3 separate regions of the Homo sapiens genome follow, and regions 1 and 3 are each linked to region 2. Evidence: promoter capture Hi-C in 16 types of primary human blood cells and fetal thymus (Javierre and others, 2016). All regions are on one chromosome and are shown on one strand. The core of a region is centred on a gene start or on the middle of the fragment in contact, and the rest is flanking DNA. Distances in the headings are between cores, read along the strand shown. Region 1 overlaps LOC102723568 (a long non-coding RNA gene). Region 2 holds the start of ELF5 (E74 like ETS transcription factor 5). Region 3 holds the start of LOC105376624 (a long non-coding RNA gene).

The links. The method cuts DNA at HindIII sites, captures the fragments that hold promoters and counts their contacts. A CHiCAGO score of 5 or more calls a contact.
Region 1: a contact is called between a fragment that was not itself captured here and the fragment with the promoter of ELF5 in region 2, in 1 of 17 cell types (M2 macrophages). The highest score is 5.9, in M2 macrophages.
Region 3: a contact is called between a fragment that was not itself captured here and the fragment with the promoter of ELF5 in region 2, in 1 of 17 cell types (endothelial precursors). The highest score is 6.2, in endothelial precursors.

The regions. Positions count from the first base shown.
Region 1 is chr11:34,840,121-34,843,145 of GRCh38, forward strand. All of the region lies in intron 6 of LOC102723568 (a long non-coding RNA gene), which reads left to right. Among named protein-coding and RNA genes, the nearest start is that of APIP, 75 kb to the right of the region's middle. The HindIII fragment of the contact is 202 bases long and covers 1,256-1,457 here.
Region 2 is chr11:34,512,260-34,515,370 of GRCh38, forward strand. It overlaps ELF5 (E74 like ETS transcription factor 5), which reads right to left and starts at 1,535. Exons shown (of 7, transcript NM_001422.4): 1 at 1,418-1,535. The HindIII fragment of the contact is 1,187 bases long and covers 1,106-2,292 here.
Region 3 is chr11:34,874,509-34,877,374 of GRCh38, forward strand. LOC102723568 (a long non-coding RNA gene) reads left to right here. Exons shown (of 7, transcript XR_007062652.1): 7 at 2,502-2,866. LOC105376624 (a long non-coding RNA gene) reads right to left here and starts at 770. Exons shown (of 2, transcript XR_931185.2): 1 at 659-770. The HindIII fragment of the contact is 397 bases long and covers 1,392-1,788 here.

The DNA.
Region 1 (3,025 bases), core at 107-2,606, 330 kb after region 2:
ACTCTTAATGATCCTACCTCATGGTCCTATATAGCTGCTCCAGCCCCTGACATCACATCTGCATTCCAAGCCTATAGCTCAGAAAGAAGGACAGAGGAGTTATCAGAGAATAGTCAGCAGTCTCTGCCAAATGTCTTGACTTTGCTTTTAACATGGGAAGGGCAGGAAGGCACAGCCCATTACCGACGATGCTTCACTGATAACTAACATTGAATCCATAACATCTAGAACTGTTCTTTCCTTTGGTCTGAAGCTGAACACAGTGATCCCTTGGAGCTCACCTTTGGCATGGCACCTGGAACAGATTCTAACTAAACCACCAGTTGAAGGCCTTCTCCTCACTTGGTCCCTCAAGGAACCTCCTTCTTCTGCAGGGGCTTTCTAATCACACAACCCTTATAGGCCCCTGAGTCCTCTAAATTATTCTACTTGTTCTCCCTCACCTGACCATTTCCCTTCCTTGGCCTTTAAGCTGACTTCAGCCATTCCTTTTCATCCAGTTTTCAGTGTTGTGGTCATTTTTCCTGCTGAAGATGGAGAGACCGTAGGATGGCTGTGTTTCAGGAGAGGAGGGAACAGTCAGACGTGTTCACTGCATAGGGGTCACCTCCTACAGCCACTCCTGTTATGTAAGGCCATCTCTGTGTCTTTGCCACTTTGATGTTCTTTTTACCAAAAGCTGCCTCTCTAGCCTGGCTGAGTGTAATGCCAGCCCCAGAAGGAGGCAGTGGTGTAGTGGTGGGTTGTGTTCTAGGACAGATTCCCCACTTCCCCTTCACGGACCAGTAAGGACTCCTGCGAGTAGAGCACACCATGCTAGTGAGGCCCAGGTTACTCATGCAGCCCCTAGAGGGCAGTAGACTTTACTCCTCATCAAGGCCAGGCAATTGCCTAGCCCTGCCAACACTTGCCTAACCTTTTACAACTTATCACTAAAAGGAATGCCAACTAATTACTGGGCATCCACTGTGTCAGGGATTAAATCGGCTCATCAAATCCTAACAACAGCCCTGCAAGATGGGGGAGTTTAGCTCCATTTTACAAATGAGGAAACCAAAGACCAGAGAGGTTGAGTAACTTACCCAAGGCTATAGATCTAGAAAGTGGTAGGACCAGGACTGCAACTCAGGTCTGATGCCCAGACTATGTTCTTTATCCTATGTGAGTTGCCTCTCATTAAATGTCCATAATTAGTCAGTGGTACGGAGAGGGAGGTATGGAGAATCAACACAATGAATGCAATGAATATTTACTAAGCTTCTACTAAGTGCCAGGTACCAGGGATACAAAGATGGATAAGACATGATCCTCAAGAAATGTCAGTTTAGCCAGGAATACAGTCGTGGACATGGATTACTTCAGGCCAGTGTACTAAGGGCAAAGATCTTATGAATACTCAGCAGCATAATCCATACTTGGGTAGAAATTTAAGAGAGGGAGCAGGAGGAATCACAGGAAGCTTCCTGGAAAGGACCATCTCTGAGCTGAGTCTTAAAGGGTGAATTTGAGTAGACAGGTAGATAATGTAAAAGGCATTTCAGGCAGAGGACACAAAACATGCAAAGGTCAGGAGGTAGGGCCGGTATAACATACCAGCCATATACTCTGTATGTATAGGCTCCAGTGTAGCATTTCAGTATACACCCAGCAAACATTTTTCACCAAATAAATGCATTCTCCTCCTGCAATGGGTAGAAACACACACACACACACACACACACACACACACACACACACACGCACATACACACACCCCAAAAACCTTTCTGGTCACTCCATTAATTTTTCAGTCACATTCTTCTTGTCTTTTCTCCTGCCTCAGCCTGGCTCCCACTTCTGCCTCCTCCCCTGTTCTCAGGTTCTCTATGTAGAATGTTCTGATTTCACCAGAAGACTTTTTTTGCCATGGTCCTGAAACTCCATTTTGCTTGCATTCATTGGAAGCCAAATGAATGTTGTACTTCTTGGAGTTCTGCTGAGATGTTGGGGGGCTGAAAGCCAGCGTCTTGGGTGAGTGAGGTCTTCATAGAGACTTCAGGTTTAAGTAAGACTGAGCCCATCTGCTGCTTCCATCCTTCCCAAACCTGGTTCCCAAGCAGCACTGGTGTCAGTCTAGCCCATTGAGGAGCTTTGCCTCCCATTGGCTCCCAGATTTTAGTTGCCGGGACACCTGAAGGAGAAGAAGGGTGTTGGTCCTCAATTCCCTCCAGCCTCATGTTGCCGTGGCCTTTATCCACGCCTCCGTGCTGGGTCCCAGCCTCTTGATTTCCCTTTCTCCTCTTACTCCAGGCCTGTCTCCCCCATCCCCAGAAACAGTGTAACCTATGCTTAGAAAATTAAGTTTTACAGGTTTCAGTCAGGGGCAGGAATTTCTAAGGGTGGGATTTTAATATCAGTGTTCGAGTTGATTCTCCCAGCATTTCTTGGGGTGGGAACCCCCCTAGCACCCCTGAAATCATACAAGCCTGTTAAGACAGTGGAGCTATATAGACCTGGGTAAATAACTCTATGCTCACACAAACCTGAGTTCAAATATGGGCTCTGCTACTTCCTGGCTTGGTGACTTCAGCCAAGGAGCTGAAACTCTCTGAGCCTCTGTATTCTTGTCTATAAAGCAGGGATAATAGTGCCATGGTGTAAAGCACTTGGCGTGGATACTATTATTATAACACTCCTTGCTCGTTTGTAGACACCGCTTGCTCATACATTGATTTTTTTGTTTTTTATTTTTTGAGACAGAGTCTCACTCTGTTGCCCAGGCTGGAGTGCAGTGGTGCGATCTCAGCTCACTGCAAGCTCCACCTCCTGGGTTCATGCCATTCTCCTGCCTCAGCTTTCCGAGTAGCTGGGACTACAGGCGCCCGCCACCGCACCCGGCTACTTTTTTGTATTTTTTAGTAGAGATGGGTTTTCGCCGTCTTATCCAGGATGGTCTTCGTCTCCTGACCTTGTGATCTGCCCACTTCGGCCTCCCAAAGTGCTGGGATTACAGGTGTGAGCCACCACGCCCAGCCACGTTGATTCA
Region 2 (3,111 bases), core at 285-2,784:
CTGACCTCTTGTCAAGTGATTCCTCATTTTTCTTTAGCTCGCTTAGGGAGTTTGCGTGTTTGTTTGTTTGTAGCTGTTTTTCTGAAGGTGCAGCGAAGATCCAAAAAGGTATGCCATGTAGTTTGCTGTAGGCTTCGATGCAAAGCTTACCAGTTTTGGATTACATATATCAGGGGTTAAATCCTACCTCTGCTGCTGCGAACGTGGGGCACATTTCTTACTACCCAGACTGCTGAAATTCTTAAGCTTTTTTTCATATAGATGTGGTATATAAATATTCATGCCCCTCTTCGAACTACGGTTTCCTCATCTCTAAAATGGGGATTTTTTTTTTTTTAAATCATGCAATCCGATATATGCAAAGGACGGGGCATAATACATATATTCAATCCTGTTTTAGAGGGAAAAATCAGCCATCAACAATGTATCTAAAAATTTGCCACTCTGGTGACTTCTGAAAAAGGGAGATGACCAAACTGAAAACTCCGGCCCGAGAATACCTTAGATTATGAAAAACAGTATTGCAGAGAACACGAAGACAACAGAATCAAGCGTTCACTCGGATGGGCAAACCACCCCTTTCCCTGGGTCTCTGGACTAGACTGAACCACAGAGCTGCCTCCCTAAGTCATCTAGCCTTTCTGGCCTCAGTTTCCTCATCTGTAACATGAAGCGATTGCACCTAGTGATGTCTGACACACTTTCGGGCGTACAAAAGGCATCCACACGCAGGCCCGGCTTCAGCCTGAGGAGGGAGCTTGTGCTACCTGTCGCTGTCAGCAGGGGGCAACCCCACAGAAACCCCACACACTGCAGAGTCTGACAAGGCCTGAGAACACAGTGGAAAAACGCTAACCATTGCTTTTCTGGAAGCATTCTCTTCTGGGGAGATGTCAGAGGGCAAATGGGTTTCTTTTAAAACTGTTTTGTACAAATTCCTGAAAATGCCCCAAACTATAATAAGGGAGTTCTCTGTATCGAGGGGGTGGGGGACAGTGGGCAGGCCGGTGGGGAAAGGAATTCAGTCAGGGGAGAAGGGTAGGTGGGGGGCTTTCCTTGAAGCTGAATATTTTTCTGAGTAAAATCCAGCTTCCCTTCCTAAAGAAGCTTTAGGGAGGATAGAGAACTGAGCGCCTGGGCGCGTTCTCTTAATTCCCCTTGGTTCAGCTAAGGGATCCAGAGGGAGTGGTGGCTGTGAGGAGGGCTGGTGGCCACACGGCCTGCGGAGGCAAGCAGGTCTCTCTGAGGCAAGCCGTCACATCCGTGTCAAACAGCTCCCGGAGGCCCTGGGACTGCACCCAGCGCAGGTGCCGGCCCTGGAGCTGGAGATGGACGAGCAGACCCAGGCCCCAGGCCGAGCCTCTGAGCCCTGACACCCCTTACGATTCATCCAAAAAAGCAAAGAAAAGGCGCTTACGTGAGGGCAGCGGTGGCTAGGTCCAAAGAGGAGGCTTTCAAGGCAAGAGAAGGCAGGCGCTCCCAGCACCAGCGTGCAGTGGAAATAAAGACACCTGTAGCCTTGTGATATAAGTGACACCTACAGACAGGTCCGTTTGGTTTTTCAGGTTTACGCACAGCCCCTTTGATGACGGTGACATACAGTGTGACACGGCTCCTTGGAGGGGGGGAAATGGTTCTCATATGCAGAAAGTTTACCTTTATCCTGCTTTTGTGCGCAGCTCACCCCTGCCCTGCAACCCCCCACTCCCAGCCCAGGGGACTCAGTAAACAAGCAGAAAATTCTTGTCCCTGGGAGCTGTGCGGGGATCGTGCGTTTGGTGAGGAATTTTCCTCTGTGCAAGCTGGAGGGGAAACACAGAGATTCCACCCTGGTGCCGGTCTGCGCTGCCTCTCTCCCAGGCTGGCTGAGCCCAGTGCTTTTGTAAGATCATGTCTTTCTCCGTTTTTCCCATGTGGTGAGAAGGAAGAGCATTATAGGCCCAGTGTTAAGACCTCAGGTTTTGCAGCTAGTTGCCTTTAGATTCAAATTCAGTGTCCATCATTTCCTAGCTGTGCTACCTAGAAAAATGTAGCTAACATCTCTGGGCTTCATGAGTGTAATGTAAGTGATGGGGCCTCTCCTCATGTGGATGCCAGCTCTCAGGTGTCTCGCTGAGAACTGCCCGCTTTTTAGTACTTCTTCGTGACAACAGAAACTCTGCCTAATTTAGGCTGCAAAGCACAGTGTCCCAGGTCATCTATGAGACAGGTATTTATAACCCTGTGCCTTTTTGCATTCTGCTTCTAGCCATCTTGGGCAGCCGAGATGTTGTATTCAAATGGCAGACTCCAAGCTTTAAAGCGAAAGCAAGGACTGGTTTGTTATGTTTTCTTGGGATCACCGGGCATGGTTACAAACACACAAATACAAATACGCATATAGTCTGCAGAAACAAAAGGCAGTTCGTGAGAGGATTCGGGGTGTCATCATGGAAAAATTGTTGAAGGAAGATAGGTGACTGCCTAGACCCCTATCTTGGCTGGGTAACCTGGACTTCTCTGGGCTTCATTTTTCCCCAGTGGCAAAAGGAGGAAGTGGGATTGAAATAGTGATTTTTTTCAAACTGTGACTTGAGGAACCCCAGGGGCTCCCTGGAGCCCTTACAAGGACTTTTGCGGGTGAGAGGATGGGAGTGGAGTAGAGTGGGTTAGGCTCTAGACCACCCCGTTCCTTCCTGACTCAATAAGAGCATCTCAGCTTTTATATAAATCTTCCGGGTAAGATTTCATTTGAACAAAAGAATCTGCCCTTAGAAAGGGTTTGCAAGTAACTGGATTACATGGTCTTTGGGCCTCTTTCAAGCTTTAAAATTCTGTACTTCTCTTCCTCTTTGGTTTCTAGGGGACTGTGCACTGTGATAGTCCCACACACTGTGTTTTCCATTGTTGGGCACTGGCCTATCTTGTCATTGATTTCTGAAATGTTACCAGTGTTTCTTTCTGAACATATACATTCTTCTCAGTGGAGAGGTTTTTAGGGAAAACATGTTATTCTGATACTGTTTTTAGAAAGAGTCTTTTGGGCTGGGCGCAGTGGCTCATGCCTGTAATCCCAGCACTTTGGGAGGCCGAGGCAAGCAGATCATGAGGTCAGGAGTTCAAGACCAGCCT
Region 3 (2,866 bases), core at 340-2,839, 360 kb after region 2:
GTGGGTGAGTGGAGGTGGCTCCTATGAGTGAGGGAAACTGGGTAGACACCAACAGCAGCTTACCTCTACCTACGTACCAACACTTGAGCACTGAACAAGTACTGAGTACGAAAGAAGATTTGCTGAAATTTGGAGTTACAAGACCCTTAGAAAATGCCAATCAGAAAATGAAAGTTAAGTGATTCTGCTCAAGGTCAATGTAAAATTATTAAAAATGCTAATGATATGGGCAGGAGGCGAGGAAATACTAGGTAGAAGAGGGCAGTTCCCTGGCAAAGGCCCCACCCTCAAGCCTGGAAACCCATGGACCTAAATGGGAACAGGCATCCCTGTTTTCACGCCCAAATGTTGCCTTTTCTAAGACCACTCTGGCCTGCCATGCCCCTATTCTGTGCCCACATAAACCCCAAGCTCCACGAGCAGAGGAACAGAAGAGTAGCAGAACGACAGAGCAGCAGAGTGGCATGGCATAGAAGAAGAGAAGAGAAGGAGCGTCTGAACATCAACAGGAGTTCAGCTGGGGACAGTCAGAGAGGAGATCGGCTGTGGGGCAGCCAAACTCTGGGGGAATATCACCTTCCCATTCCATCCTCTTTCCAGCTCCCCATCCATCCCACTGAGAGCTACTTCTATCACCCAATAAAATCCCTGCACTCACCATCCTTCAAGTCTGAGTGACCTGAATCTTCCTGGACGCTGGATGATATGGTTTGGCTCTGTGTCCCCACTCAAATCTCATCTTGTAGCTCCCATAATTCCGTGTTGTGGGAGGGACCTGGTGGGAGATAATTGAATCATGGGGGCGGGTCTTTCCTCTGCTGTTCTCATGATAGTAAGTCTCACAACATCAGATGGCTTTAAAAATGGGAGTTTGCCTGCACAAGTTCTCTCCTCTTGCCTGCTGCCATGTGAGATACGCTTTTCACCTTCTGCCATGATTGTGAAGCCTGCCCAGCTACGTGGAACTATGAGTCCAATAAGCCTCTTTCTTTTGTAAATTGCCTGGTCTCCGGTATGTCTTATCAGCAGTGTGAAAACAGACTAATACACCGGACAAGGATCCAGGTACCAAGAGGGCAGGGTGTAAAAGGCTGTCACCCTGACTCTCTACTGAGCTGGTTTAACACTTAGCCGTCCACAAATGGCAACTACTAAAAGAGCATTAATTGTAACACACCCCTAAACGCTACTGGGGCTGGAGCCCAAAAGCACTCGCCCCGCCCCAGCTCTTGCCCCCGCCCATCCGTGTGCTCGCCCTCCCGAAAGGAGTTCGAGCCTGTAGTGGCTGAGCACATGAGCGACACCTCTGTCATAAGTCCTGTGAGGGATCAGGGAACTCTCCCGTTTCACTAACATATGCTGAGAAAATGGGTGTCAGGTGAGAAAGTCTAAGCTTAAGACAGAAGATTAAAAGAAAAAAACAAAAGATGTATGTTTAAAGAATAAAAAGGAAGAGAAGAAAAAGGCAAAGAAGAAGGTTATAAGGCAACAAATAAAATCTCTCAAATTAAGAATAAATGGACAGAAGGAATTGAAGGGAAGAAAAACTAGAAGGAAAACCTCAGTCCTAGGGTGTGAAAGCATTAACAAGGATTATGAGTGATAATAGACATGTATTATTTTAGATTTGGCTTATTGTAGAGTTTTTTTTATTTCATATTGGAACTATAGATGATTCATTTCTTAAATAAATAGGAAAAATGCCTGAACAATATGTGAATGGCATTGAATTATTGAAGATTAAGGCTTATAGTTAAGGCTTATACTTAAAAATCACATTGATTGGAAAGCTTGATGAGTCAGAATCAAGCAATGGTAAATGGCTAAATGGTAACAATTTTTACCAAGTTACTATGGGCCAAAGTAATATCCTTCAAAGTGCCAGCTGTCACAACATAGCAAGATTTTTAAACAATGTCATTCTTGGCTGCAAAGGGAGCCAGCCACTTGAAGTAGAAGTTCAGTTTTGCTTTCTGGATAAAAAGAGGTAAGGAGAAAATCAGAATAAAGTTCTGAAATTTAGGAAGATAAAGGAAGGAAGTCTTTTTCAGAGTGTTTCTATAAATGGCACACATTGATTGCTGATATGACATTGATGAATGTTGATCAAAATGACTTAATTCATTCTATTGTGTGATAAGAGCACTAGAGATGTCATACAATTAAATTAACTGCAATAATTGCTAAAAACAAGGAGATTTAAAGAGCAGAATTATACCTGAAATCCTATAAATGGCTTTGAAAGTGCCTTTGGAAAGTGTCACTTACGTGCAAAGCCTTTAGAGGTTTTAATTTAAAGCAGAATCAACACATTTTTAAGCTACACTAAACAGGGGTCATCACTGTCTTCATATCTGTGAAAGACTGCTACAACAAAGCGGAAAGAGCAGAAATGTGCAGGCTTATCGGTTTAAGTTCATTCCTAAAAATCGTAGAGGGAGATAGAGAAATAATTGCTTCTTTGATAACATCCTAACGTTCTTTTTTTTTTTTTTTTCTAGGATGGCTGGGCAGGGTTCTGCAACACAGCAGAAACCCCAGGCTTCCCAAGACCCAGGATCAGAACTGTATAATGTCACTTCTGCCTCACTTTGTTGGACAAAGTATGTCACAAGATCATCTCAGTGGTGGTAAAATTATTATTATTATTATTTTAAGGCAGAGTCTCACTTTGTCACCCAGGCTGGAGTGCAGTGGTGTGATCTCGGCTGCTCACTACAACCTCCGCCTCCCATGTTAAGCGACTCTCATGCCTCAACCTTACCCATGTTAAGCGACTCTCATGCCTCAACCTTACCAAGTAGCTGGGATTACAGGTGCATGCCACCACAGCTGGCTAAATTTTGTATTTTTTTTTTCATACTTT